3 separate regions of the Homo sapiens genome follow, and all the other regions are linked to region 2. The links are contacts of gene promoters, found by promoter capture Hi-C in human tissues and cell types (Jung and others, 2019). All regions are on one chromosome and are shown on one strand. Each heading gives the region's core, a stretch centred on a gene start or on the middle of the fragment in contact. The rest is flanking DNA. Distances are from core to core; before and after follow the strand shown.

Region 1 (4,276 bases), core at 148-2,647, 160 kb after region 2:
ATCAGTGTACATTTCCACACAGAGCCACGAGTGCTTATATAATAATTGTCTGTGCCCAATCACTTAAGAGTGACTTTGCTGATGACCTTGTCAGAGGCATTCTGTTTGGCAAGCAGAGTTGATCGACTCTTGGCCAGCGTGCAAGCGACAGAAAACACTTCTGTCATACTGAATTCATTTTTTTTTGACAAACAGAGCTCACATTAGAGAGCCAGTTGGCAAAACTGATATTCTGTAATACAGCAAATTATAATTCTGTGTCTCTGGCTCATTTCTTCCCAAGGGGTTTTGGGTGGCCACTTGTGGCTAAGTTTAGCAGAAGGAGTCTTATTAGAATGACATAAGGTAATTCCATAGTTGAATTTTTAGCCTGATTTCAATGTCCAAGTGACAGTCTTTTCCCTTTTTGCTGAAACCTAACTGATTATATTTACAATCTGTTTATTTGGCAGGTCATATTCATAGGAACCCTTTCCAAAGAAGGAAGGGGAATATGAAGAAAGTTAGGAATGAAGACAAATCTATAAACTGCAAAGGCTCTGATGTCAGTAATTGTGCTGTCAAAACTGCTCAGGCTCTGATGAGTCAGGTGATCACAGTCAAGTCAATTAATCTCTCCGAGGCTCATCTGTAAGTTGGGGATGGGTTTCTTTTCTTTTTTTTCTTTTAAGACTTTCTCTTTTTAAATTAATTAATTATTTAAAGTTTTGGGGTATATGTGCAGGATGTGCAGGTTTGTCACATAGGTAAACGTGTGCCATGGTGGTTTGCTGCACATATCAACCCATCGCCTAGTTTTGTTCTTTTTGCTTAGGATTGTCTTGGCTATGTGAGCTCTTTTTTGGTTCCATATGAATTTTAAAATATTTTTTTCTAATTCTGTGAAGAATGTCAGTGGTAGTTTAATGGGAAGAGCATTGAATCTATAAATTGCTTTGGGCAGTATAGTTATTTTCACTATACTGATTCTTTCTATCCATGAGCAGATGGAATGTTTTTCCATTTGTTTGTGTTCTCTCTGATTTCCTTGAGCAGTGGTTTGTAGTTCTCTTTGAAGAGGTCCTTCACTTTCCTTGTTAGCTCTATTCCTAGGTATTTTATTCTCTTTGTGGCAATTGTGAATGGGAGTTCATTCATGATTTGGATTTCTGCTTGCCTGTTGTTGGTGTATAGGAATGCTTGTGACTTTCGCACATTGACTTTGTATCCTGAGACTTTGCTAAATTTGCTTATCAGCTTTAGAAGCTTTTGGGCTGAGACAATGTGGTTTTCTAGATACAGAATCATGTCATCTGCAAACAAAGACAATTTGACTTCCTCTCTTCCCATTCGAATATCCTATATTTCTTTCTCTTGCCTAATTGCCCTGGCCAGAACTTTCAACACTATGTTGAATAAGAGTGGTGAGAGAGAGCATCCTGGTCTTGTGCCAGTTTTCAAGGGAATGCCTGCAGCTTTTGCCCATTCAGTATGATATTGGCTGTGGATCTGTCATAAATGGCTCTTATTATTTTGAGGTATGTTCCTTCAATGCCTAGTTTATTAAGAGTTTTTAACATGCAGGGATGTTGCATTTTATCAAAGGTCTTTTCTGCATCTATTGAGATAATTATGTGGTTTTTGTCTCTAGTTCTGTTTATTTGATGAATTATGTTTATTGATTTGCATCTGTTGAACCTGCCTTGCATCCCAGGGATGAAGCCGACCTGATCATGGTGAATAAGCTTTTTGATGTGCTGCTGGACTCCATTTGCTAGTATTTTATTGAGGATTTTTCCATCTATGTTCATTATGAATATTGGCCCAAAGTTTTCTTTTTTGGTTGTAACTCTGGCAGGTTTTGGTATCAGGATGACGCTGACCTCATATAATGAGTTAGGGAGGAGTCTCTCCTTTTTAATTGTTTGGAATAGTTTCAGAAGAAATGGTACCAACTTTGCTTTGTATCTCTGTTAGAATTCAGCTATAAATCCCTCTGGACCTGAAATTACTGCCTCAATTTCAGAATTTGTTATTGTTCTATTCAGGGATTCAGCTTCTTTCTGGTTCAGTCTTGGAAGGGTGTATGTGTCCAGGAATTTATCTATTTCTTCTAGATTTTCCAGTTTATTTGCATAGAGTTGTATATAGTATTCTCTGAGGGTTGTTTGTATTTCTTTGGGTCAGTGGTGTTATCCCCCTTACCATTTCTGATTGTGTTTATTTGAATCTTCTCTCTTGCCTTCTTTATTAGTCTTGCTAGCAGTCTATTTTCCCTATTGATTTAAAAAAAGTTTGTGGATTTGTTGATTTTTTGAAGTTTTTTTTGTTTCTATGTCCTTCATTTCCTCTCTGAAATTATTTCCTGTCTTCTCCTAGCTCTGGGGTTTGTTTGCTCTTGGTTCTCTAGTTCTTTTAGTTGTGATATTAGGGTGTCTATTTGAGATTTTTCTAGCTTTTTGATGTGGGCATTTAGTGTAATAAATTTCCCTCTTAACACAGTTTCAGCTGCATCCTAGAGATTCTGATACATTGTCTCTTTGTTCTCATTGGTTTCAAAGAACTTCTCGATTTCTGCCTTAATTTCATTATTTACCCAGGGGTCATTCAGGAGCAGTTTGTTCAATTTCATGTAGCTGTGTGGTTTTGAGTGGGCTTTTAAATCTTGAGTTCTAATTTGATTGTGTTGTGGTCTGAGAGACCACAACTGGAATCTTATGATTCCAGTTTTTTAATTTTTGCATCTGCTGAAGAGTGTTTTACTTCCAATTATGTGATCAATTTTAGGGTAAGTGCCATGTGGCACCAAAAAAATCTGTTGTTTTAGGTGGAGAGTTCTGTAGATATCTATCAGGTCCACTTGGTCTGAGCTCAAGTCCTGAATATCTTTGTTAATTTTCTGTCTCAATGATCTGTCTAATGCTGACTGTGAGGGTATTAAAGTCTCTCACTATTATTGTGTGGGGGTCTAAGTCTCTTTGTAGTTCTCTAAGAACTTATTTTATGAATCTGGGTGTTCCTGTATTGGGTGCATATGTATTTAGTATAGTTAGCTCTTCTTGGGGAATTGAACACTTTAATATTATGTAATGCCCTTTGTCTTTTTTGACCTTTGTTGAGATGTGTCTCTTGAATACAGCACACTGATGGGTCTTGTCTTTGTATCCAGCTTGCCATTCTGTGTCTTTTAATTAGGACATTTAGCCCATTTACCTTTAAGTTTAATATTGTTATGTATGAATTTGATCCTGTCATCATGATGCTGGCTGTTTAATTTTGCAGACTTGTTAACGTATTTGCTTCATAGTGTCACTGGTCTCTGTACTTCAGTGTGTTTTTGTAGTTTCATAGATAGAATAGGTTTTTCCTATCCAGGTTTTAGTGCTTCCTTCAGGAGTTCTTGCAAGACAGGGCTGATGGTGACAAAATCCCTCAGCATTTGCTTGTCTGAAAAGGATTTTATTTCTCCTCCACTTATGAAGCTTAGTTTGGCCAGATATGAAATTCTGGGTTGGAATTTCTTTTTCTTAAGAATGTCGAATATTGGCCCCCAATCTCTTCTGGCTTGTAGGGTTTCCACTGAGAGGTCCACTGTTAGTCTGATGGGCTTCCCTTTGTAGGTGACCTGTCCTTTCTCTCTTGCTGCCCTTAACATTTTTTCTTTCATTTCAACCTTGGAGAATCTGATGATTATGTGTCTTGGGGTAGAACTTTTGTGGAGTATGCTACTGCAGTTATCTCGATTTCCTGAATTTGAATATTGGCCTGTCTTGCTAGACTGGGGAAGTTCTCCTGGATGATATCCTGAAGTGTGTTTTCCAACTTGGTTTCATTCTCCCCATCTCTTTCAGGTACTCCAATCAGTCATAGGTTCAGTCTTTTGACATAGTCCCATAGCTCTCGGAGGTTTTGTTTGTTCCCTTTCATTCTTTTTTCTCCAATCTTGTCTTCATGGCCTATTTCAGCAAGATAGTCTTCAGGCTCTGATACTCTCTCTTCCACTTGGTCAATTCAGCTATTGGTACTTGTGTTTGCATCACAAAGTTCTTGTGCTGTGTTTTTCAGCTCCATCAGGTCATTTATGTTCCTCTCTAAACTGGTTATTCCAGTTAACAGCTCCCATAATATTTTATCATGGTTCTTAGCTTCTTAGCATTAGGCTAGAACATAATCCTTTAGCTCAGCAAAATTTGTTACTACCCACTTTCTAAAGCCTACTTATGTCAGTTCATCCATCTCAGCTTCAGCTCAGTTCTGTGCCCTTGCTGGAGATGTGTTGCAATCATTTAGAGGAGAA
Region 2 (4,503 bases), core at 187-2,686:
TCCATCAATAGGAAATCAGTTAAATAAATTATAGTACATTTATCCAATGGAAGATTAAGCACATATTCAATATAATTATTTATACACACATATAGATACACACATGTATAAATATAGAGAATACTGTGGGTGTATGTGTGTGTGTGTTTATATACATATATATACACACACAGTACTGTTGCCTACCTTCTTTTGTCTTAATTCTGTGAACTCTCATTCACTCTGCTTCAGTAGGATACATCCTTCTTTTTGGTTCTTAGACTCACCAAGTTGATCCTTGACTCAAGACATTGCATTTGCTGCTTCCTCTTCCTGGAATATCCTTCCTTCTGATATTCACATGAGTAGTCTCTTCTTGTCATTCAGATCTCAAATGTCACAATTTCAGAGAGCCCATCTCTGATCATCATATCTAAAGTTGTCCTCATTCCCCCATAGCTTTCTATACCATGTTTTATTTTTTTCATAACATGTATTTTATTACTCCTTTCTCCATTGGAATAGAATCTCCATTAGATTAGGAAATCTGCCTATCTTATTAATGCCTGCAACTGGAATACTTTTGAAGAGTTCTTGGCACGTAATAAATACTCAACTAATATTTTTGTGTACACAGAAATAAAGTTTGGAAGAACAGATGCCAAATTGTTACTAGTGGTTACTTCTGAGTAAAGGAGTAGCATGGTAGGTAAATTATTAATAGATGTTCACTTTCCACCAAGATATGTTTTAGTTAGTCTTAACTTACTTGAAATGAAATTTATTACTTTAATAATTAGAAACATTGATAAACATTTTAGTCACAAGAATGATAGATAAAATTTTGATGCTTCCAATAAGTTATATTTATCTAGAGGATGCACTTATGTAGAATACTCTCTTGAGGATGTTAGGTGAGTAACATGTTACTATATGTAGTAAAATATCTATGATTTTATAAAAGCACTGAAACATGAAGCAGCAGAAATGTTTTTCCCAGTTCTCTTTCCTCTGAACTTGATCACCGTCTCTCTGGCAAAGCACCTAAATTAATTCTTCTTTAAAAGTTAACAAGACCAAATTATAAGCTTGATGAATAACTCATTCTTATCTTTCTTTAAATGATTATAGTTTATGTATTTATTAGCTATGCCCATCTTAAACAGGTTTATTTGTTCTTTTTACACATACCAAACTCTTAATATTAGCTGTTGTCCCCAGGTCCGAATGTTAAGTCAACATATATTTGAGAGACCTTCAACTTATCAAGTATTGCAGGTCTCTGATTGCTTTGGAACCACTTCTGATACCTGTGGACTTAGTTCAAGGCCAGTTACTACCACTTTTTTTTTTCTAATAGAATGAACAAATGGCTAATTGTTTGCTTTGTCAACCAAGCTCAAGTTAATGGATCTGGATACTATGTATATAAAAAGCCTAGCTTGAGTCTCTTTTCAGTGGCATCCTTCCCTTTCTAATCAGAGATTTTCTTCCTCAGAGATTTTGGCCTAGATTTGCAAAATGATGACCACATCTTTGATTTGGGGGATTGCTATAGCAGCATGCTGTTGTCTATGGCTTATTCTTGGAATTAGGAGAAGGTAAGTAATGTTTTATCTTTAAATTGCTCTTTGATTCATCCATTTAATTTTTTTACCTTCATTTTTATACAGTAAATTTGGTTTTCTATACTTACACATATTAGCATTATCTTCCTTATTTTTTAAATGAAAAATTTGATTTGAATTTTTAAAGTAATATCTTTTTTACTATATCTCACAAGACATATGACAGCTTCCCTTTTTAGTATTGGCATATACCGATGGTAATATATAAATGTATATTGGTGTTAAACATAACTGACAGAAATTGTATAAGGTCTCTATGTACATTTATATGTGTATCTAAAGAGGAAGCCCAGATTAGTAAGGATACAAGTAGCAAGTGGGAATCTACAATGGAAAGGATTGCTTTCTCTCACATGGCTTCAATAGATACTCTTGTTAAATAAATGTTCTCTTTTAAGCTCATTCTTGTGCATCGCATAGACTCAGCCTAAGCCTGAACAAGAGCATAGAGCCTGAGCTGATCATTCTATTACTGTTTTTAAATAAATGTTAATCAACTGTGGTGAATTGGGAAAGTTTGCTGAGTGTATGTGACATCGATTTCATTTATTTACAACTGGTTCAAGAATGCAAGAAAAACAAATACAGTCAGATCCAGAACCATAGTTTATTTAACTTCTAATTGGCTCAAGGAGTAATTGTGGGGAGGCATATAGATATTCTCTGCTATGTCAATCTCAAAAAGAGAAAATAACCCTAACCATCTTTCAGCTTTGTAGATTGCTATGTGTTTTCTGCCTTTTGCAGTTTCTTTCAGGCCTGATAGTTTTTACTTTTAATTAAACTACTTATCTTCAAACTAAGAAAAGAAAGGTAATTACTTTATACTGTATTATTCTATCAAGAGGTACAGAAGTTTATGTTGGAAAATAAGTTTACATGTTCTAATAAAAACATTTTAAAGGAGCACTGAATTACAATAGATGATTCCGTCAGTGTTTATCTTACTCAATTTCATTTTATAATAAGCTGATTTCTCACATGAGATTCTTCTTCTCTGAAACCATCCTTATAGAATATAATATAGATATCTTTAAACTAGGAATATTTTCAAAACCTCAGTTCTGAAATCCTCCCTTATTCAGTGATCTGTGTCTTTAAAGAAAATAATCAAAAGAAACATTTTGAGATATTTAGAAAAATGATGCTTAGCAAAGTGATAAACACTAGAATGTAGTTTTGTTTCCGCACTGACAACAAGAATCTTGTTGGTCTTGTAAATCCTTTTGCCTGTATCACTGGGAAAAGTGATGAGCACATAGTAGACGGGTGCTTGTTGAATGTGTATATGGACGGATGCATGAATGGATGGATTTAGTAATCCTTTCCACCAACATATCATGTTACTAGGTTAATATAACCTATTACTGTAGTAAAAGAGCAGGGCCCATCCAACAAAAGAAATATCTATAAACTATAGGGTTTCAAAGTTTGAAGTCAGTGGGAAAAATTTTAAAACCTGATGTAAGTAAAAACCCAAAACTGTAATCATCCATGTCTATCATACACTTGTGTCTGACAGGCAAACGGGTGAACCACCTCTAGAGAATGGATTAATTCCATACCTGGGCTGTGCTCTGCAATTTGGTGCCAATCCTCTTGAGTTCCTCAGAGCAAATCAAAGGAAACATGGTCATGTTTTTACCTGCAAACTAATGGGAAAATATGTCCATTTCATCACAAATCCCTTGTCATACCATAAGGTGTTGTGCCACGGAAAATATTTTGATTGGAAAAAATTTCACTTTGCTACTTCTGCGAAGGTAAGCAGTTTTACATTTATATACCATTCTGTTTGTCTTCTACCTTTTTATGTGCTTGTCTATTTAGAAATTTTGATGTACTTAGATTTTATGATAAAGGTGTTGAAGAGAGTTATCCTTATGTGGAGATTCTTAGAAACATAAATAAATTATACGTAGCTTCTTAGTAATAATCATTTAGAAAGTCAAAATAGGTATAGATTTGTCATTTGTTGACGAGCTAATGAGGGTGAAATACAGATTAAATGCTCTACTGAGACAGGTGGCACTGTACGAATAAGATAGATAAAAATTCATCACATCAGCAATGTCTATGCAAGAATGCAAGTGACGGAAACCTAACATTCAGCAGTTGTCTCACCACACTTGTGCCACACAGTGTTTCATTTTGATAAGGAATTGGCAAGATATTTTAACATCATTTAGATGTAATAAAAGAAGATCTGTTACTGAGAAAAAAAACCAATAACTACTTACTTACTGCAAATAAATATTAGCTTTGGTCTTTGTGACTAAGTAGCTTAAAGTTTGGTTAAAATACATCTACAGCTGGACACAATGGAACACACCTGTAGTCCCTGCTATTTGAGAGGCTGAGGCAGGAGGATCGCTTGAGTCCAGGAGTTTGAGGCTGCAGTGAGCTATCATTGTGTCACTGCACTCCAGCCTGGGTGACAATGTGAGACCCCATCTCTAAAAGAAAAAGAAAAAGAAATCTACAAATAATATAAAAGATAACTAATGATTTTAAAACATTATCAATTAGTTTATGTGCAATAGCTGTAAATAAGTGCAGTAGCATAAGAAATAAGACATAGATGACTTGAGTGATCCAGGGGAGTGCCACTGAAGTTGGCTTTAAAGGAAAGGTACAGTTTGGTCATTTATTTGTAAAGTGCTATGAACTTGTACAAGGGAAAGCCAATTTCCCGTGTTTACCAAGTAAGGAACTATGAAAGTATCTAATCCGTTTTTCAGTCATTTACTATGACTAGGTCAGGTTTAACTTCTTTTTCTGCATGTTTTATTTGCTATCAGGCATTTGGGCACAGAAGCATTGACCCGATGGATGGAAATACCACTGAAAACATAAACGACACTTTCATCAAAACCCTGCAGGGCCATGCCTTGAA
Region 3 (4,344 bases), core at 982-3,481, 200 kb before region 2:
TTGTGACCTTTGCCTAGCAGTGTGACCTGGGGATGTTCTTTAGCCTCTTAGCCTTGGTTTTCCCATTTGTAAAATAAAGCTAGAAATACCTTCCTCACCAGGGAGTGGTGAGATCAAAGGAGTGATCAACAGGAATAAAGGAGGTGATAAAAGGGAACAAACAGGCACAGTATTCCTCAGGTATGGACTGAAGCCCCGCTAAGGCTCCTACCGCCCTGGAGAAATGAATCAGAATCCTTCACACAGCCAACAAGACCCTGTGTGACCTCATGCCCATCTAGCCCTGGCGGAGCTCCTCTGAGGTGAGAGGGGCCTGAGCCACATAGAATTTCTGATACCTCTGATAGGAAACAACAACAAAGAGATAAACATAAAAATGCCAAAACAGAGAATCAAAAAATGTTATATATTTTAAAATATTTATTTAATAAATTAATGCTTTAAAAATTAAACAGGCAATGACTGTATATACAACCTCAACTGGAGATCAGTCAAGAGTTTAAGTAAGTCTGGGTGCAGTGGCTGACATCTGTAATCCCAGCACTTTAGGAGACCAAAGTAGGAGGATCACTTCAGGCCAGGAGTTGTAGACCAGCCTGGGCAACATAGCAAGACCCTGTTTCTACCAAAACTTAAAAATTAGTCAGGCATGATGGTGCGTGCCTGTAGTCCCAGCTACACAGGAAGCCGAGGCAGGAAGATCACTCAAACCCAGGAGGTCGAGGTTGCAGCTAGCCGTGATCATGCCACTGTGCTCCAGCCTGGGTGACAGAGCAAGACAGTGTCTCTAAAAAAATAAATAAATAAAAATAAATGTTAAAAGATCTAAATTTGAGGCTCTGGCAAACATGAGGCCAGGGCCCTCCGCCATACCTCTAAGCGCCTTCCAGTGAGTCTGCACTCCGGAGGCCCCAGACTCTCCACTTCATTTTACCAGGCTCCTTCCTGCCTCAGGCTCTTCCTTCATCATGCTTGACAATTAGTTAATCTTTCAGGTCTCAATTGCAACTGCATTTCCTTAGAGAATAATTTCTTCACCAATCAAATCATTTCATTTCCCCAGTGAAGGAGCATCTGAGTGTTTCACACATGCACTATCTCAGTCACATTACATAATCTCGTGGTGCTCTGGACTTCGTCTTCATAGCAGTGACAACAAGTGTAATTAAATAATTCACTATGTAACTTGTGTTTCTCTCTGCCTCTTCTCTAGAATGTAGGCTGTCTGTCAATAAAAAGCAAGTCTATCTTTCTCAACTCTGTACCTAAGTCTGACAAGGACTCAGCGTGTACTCAATAACTATACAATGAATGAGTTTAAAGTGAATATCACTATTCAAAACTCCTTCCTCCGTATATAGACTTCTTGTGCCCTTTTCTGTAAATGTCAAGGTATATCTACTTCCATTTACTAAAAATTTATCCCTGCAAAACCCTGAAGTTTGAAATATTCATATTATATGTATTTGTCCACATATATCATTTACTGTAAAAACAGGTTGTTATGATAAATGGGGTAAGGGATGAAATATACCACCAATACAGTTGGTGTGACTTTTTAGTCACTAATGATAAAGCTTTCTGAAAATGATATCGTTCAGTCAAAGTCATCTTCTAGCATCTGTCGAATGATGTGCAAACAAAAAATCATTTTCCAGACACTGTGCTCTTTCAGTGGTTTCATTTTTATAGTGATAAACTTGACCAACAGGCACATATATCTTATTTGGCCATTTTTCATGAAAAATCCATTTATGAATGTAGCAGGATGAGCCACAGACAAAACTCCTCAGACACCGAGTTAAAGAAGGAAGGGGTTTATTCGGCCAGGAGCATCGGCAAGACTCCTGTCTCAAGAGCCGAGCTCCCCAAGTGAGCAATTCCTGTCCCTTTAAAGGGCTAACAACTCTAAGGGGGTGCACGTCAGAGGGTCGTGATCGACTGAGCAAGCAGGGGGTATGTGACTGGGGGCTGCATGCACCGGTAATTAGATCAAAACAAAACAGGATAGGGATTTTCACAGTGCTTTTCTATACAATGTCTGTAATCTATAGATAACATAACCAATTAGGTCAGGGTCGATCTTTAACTACCAGGCCCAGGGTATGGTGCCCGGCTGTCTGCTTGTGGATTTCATTTCTGCCTTTTAGTTTTTTACTTTTTCTTTTTTTGGAGGCAGAAATTAGGCATAAGACAATATGAGGGGTGGTCTCCTCCCTTATTCCCCCCCTTTGAGACTCTCACTCAATAGTGCGAGTTCTCACTTTCATTCTTACTACCCATGTCTTCTTGCAAGACAGATTGATAGTGATTCATATAGTACACTTGTGCTGAAGCATTTTGGTGAACTAAGGTAGTGATGAAGCTTTTTATCATTTGAAGAAGTACAGGTAGCAAACAAGGGAGAAGTAAGCGGTTCCTATTACTATTATAACTGTTATTATAAGAGTTTTAAATTCTCCTAGTGCTGGGAACCATTTTCTAAACATGGCTCCAGGATCAAATCCATGCCACACTTGCACAGGCACATGTGCCACTTTTGTCATATCTCTAACTATGTCCTCAACTACTTGCCCTTGATTATCTATATGTAGGCAGCAATTAGTAAGGTTAAATTTCCTACAGGCCTCTCCTTCAGCTGCTAGCAAGTAGTCTAGAGCTAATCTATTTTGATAGATAGCATTTCTCATCTGAATTTCTTGCCAGGCCAGAATAGTCAAGGCTCTGCAGGTTTTATTAGTGATTATTTTTAAGACAGCTTGTAACCGTATGATTTGGTTGATCATGTAAATGGGGGTCTGGTATCCCCATGAGCCATCTTGTGCCTAAGTAGCAGGTCCATAATATTGTGTGATTTTCTCAGGGGGCCATTTATCATTTTTTAAAATTTCCTATAGCTATGCTTCTCTTTTCGCAGGAAGCATAGACAGGGGAGCCCAGGAGTTCGCCTGTTTTTATGGGCAGTAGGAAGAAAGATGGTTTAATAGTGCCAATAACAAAACTGCCTGCCTATCGGTCAGGTAATTTGGCGTAAGCTCTATGCCTATATATCCAGTACAATCCAGTGGGGGCTGTCCAGTCCCGGTGGGACTCCGGGTGGGTCCACACAGTTTGCAACTTTGGGAATCGACTGAATGGATTTCTCTGTGTGTGATTTGAACTCCACCAAGTGACTGCTTTTGTGGTACCATTATACACTTTCTGTCCCAGACAACTAAGTCTTCCTACGGGGTGCACGAATTATTTTCCTTCTCTAGCTATGCAGTATTGTCCAATAATTGAGGCTTTTAGGACCCAGAAATTATCAGGGTGATTCTTTTGAGCTGGGAATTCATCAGGAACTGGGTCTGTAGGTACTAACTCTCAGGCTTCTCATGGCCATTGATCTCCTATTACAGTTCCTCCACGTACATAACATGAAGTGACATTGAGAGACTGGGCTACATGCTCAGCTAATTGCAAAAACGAATTTCTTGTTTTTCCTAGAATTTCTGGTACTGGCACATTTAGTTCATCATAGGAAGTTTGAAATACTGGCTCAGGAGAGCGTTTGTAAACTTCTCCTCAAACTAAGATATTTACTCAAGGATCCAGTCCAGCCCCGTTGATTCCTAAGGTCACAAGCTCCTCTTTTTTCCAGCGAGGGTCAAGGGTATTGGTTATTACTAGCTGTAAGGGGTTACATTGTTCCTTAGTAAAGGAAGGGCCATTTTTTTCCTTTCTGAAGGTGGGCTGGATCCTTTTCATTTTTTTTTAATCCAAGTGGCCTAATGACACAAGACCAGTACTTACATTTATTTCCACACACTCCTAATTTATGACAGATGTACTTATTTTCTGCCATATAGCCTCTTTTCTAATTAAGAGAACCACACCTTATTCCTAACTTATTAGTATTAATGACAGCACAGGCATCAAATTTTAACTTGACTTGTTTGGGCACCCCTTTTTCTTCTGTTTTGGTTAACACTTTACTCGTATCGTTTATGAGCCCCCACCAGTCCTCAGTCCTTAATCTTATTTTAAAACTGTGGTCATGGGAGGCTCAGATGGATCATAACACACATCAGGTTGGTCATTTCCTGGGCTACATACCTTGTATAGAATAACATTATACAAACAAGTTATTTTTAGAGTTCCAGTACACTTATAATAACCATAAAATAATAGGACCATAGCAATCTTTTGTCGTACCTCAGGGACTTGATGTGTACACTGGGAACAGTCCTCAGTCTGAGGAAGGTCAGTTGAAGTCCTTACTGTAACAGTCCAAATTTTAAGGAAAATGAGTCCCGCGATGAGTTTTCTCATGCTTTGGCTGTGCGTGGACCAGTCAGCTTCTGG

The links. Contacts are between HindIII fragments. The study calls those that stand out against the background at their distance.
Region 1: a contact is called between a fragment that was not itself captured here and the fragment with the promoter of CYP7A1 in region 2, in 2 of the 25 tissues and cell types used here (aorta and ovary).
Region 3: a contact is called between a fragment that was not itself captured here and the fragment with the promoter of CYP7A1 in region 2, in 1 of the 25 tissues and cell types used here (hippocampus).

Annotation. Positions count from the first base shown.
Region 1 is chr8:58,332,811-58,337,086 of GRCh38, reverse strand. No RefSeq gene overlaps it. Among named protein-coding and RNA genes, the nearest start is that of LINC03133, 63 kb to the right of the region's middle. The HindIII fragment of the contact is 5,242 bases long and covers 1-4,018 here.
Region 2 is chr8:58,497,096-58,501,598 of GRCh38, reverse strand. It overlaps CYP7A1 (cytochrome P450 family 7 subfamily A member 1), which reads left to right and starts at 1,436. Exons shown (of 6, transcript NM_000780.4): 1 at 1,436-1,580; 2 at 3,130-3,370; 3 at 4,409-4,503. The coding sequence starts at 1,501. RefSeq lists an enhancer at 1,005-1,226, a promoter at 1-1,460 and a silencer at 1,558-3,144. The HindIII fragment of the contact is 11,138 bases long and covers 1-4,503 here.
Region 3 is chr8:58,696,288-58,700,631 of GRCh38, reverse strand. No RefSeq gene overlaps it. Among named protein-coding and RNA genes, the nearest start is that of NSMAF, 39 kb to the right of the region's middle. RefSeq lists an enhancer at 1-416. The HindIII fragment of the contact is 5,195 bases long and covers 1-4,344 here.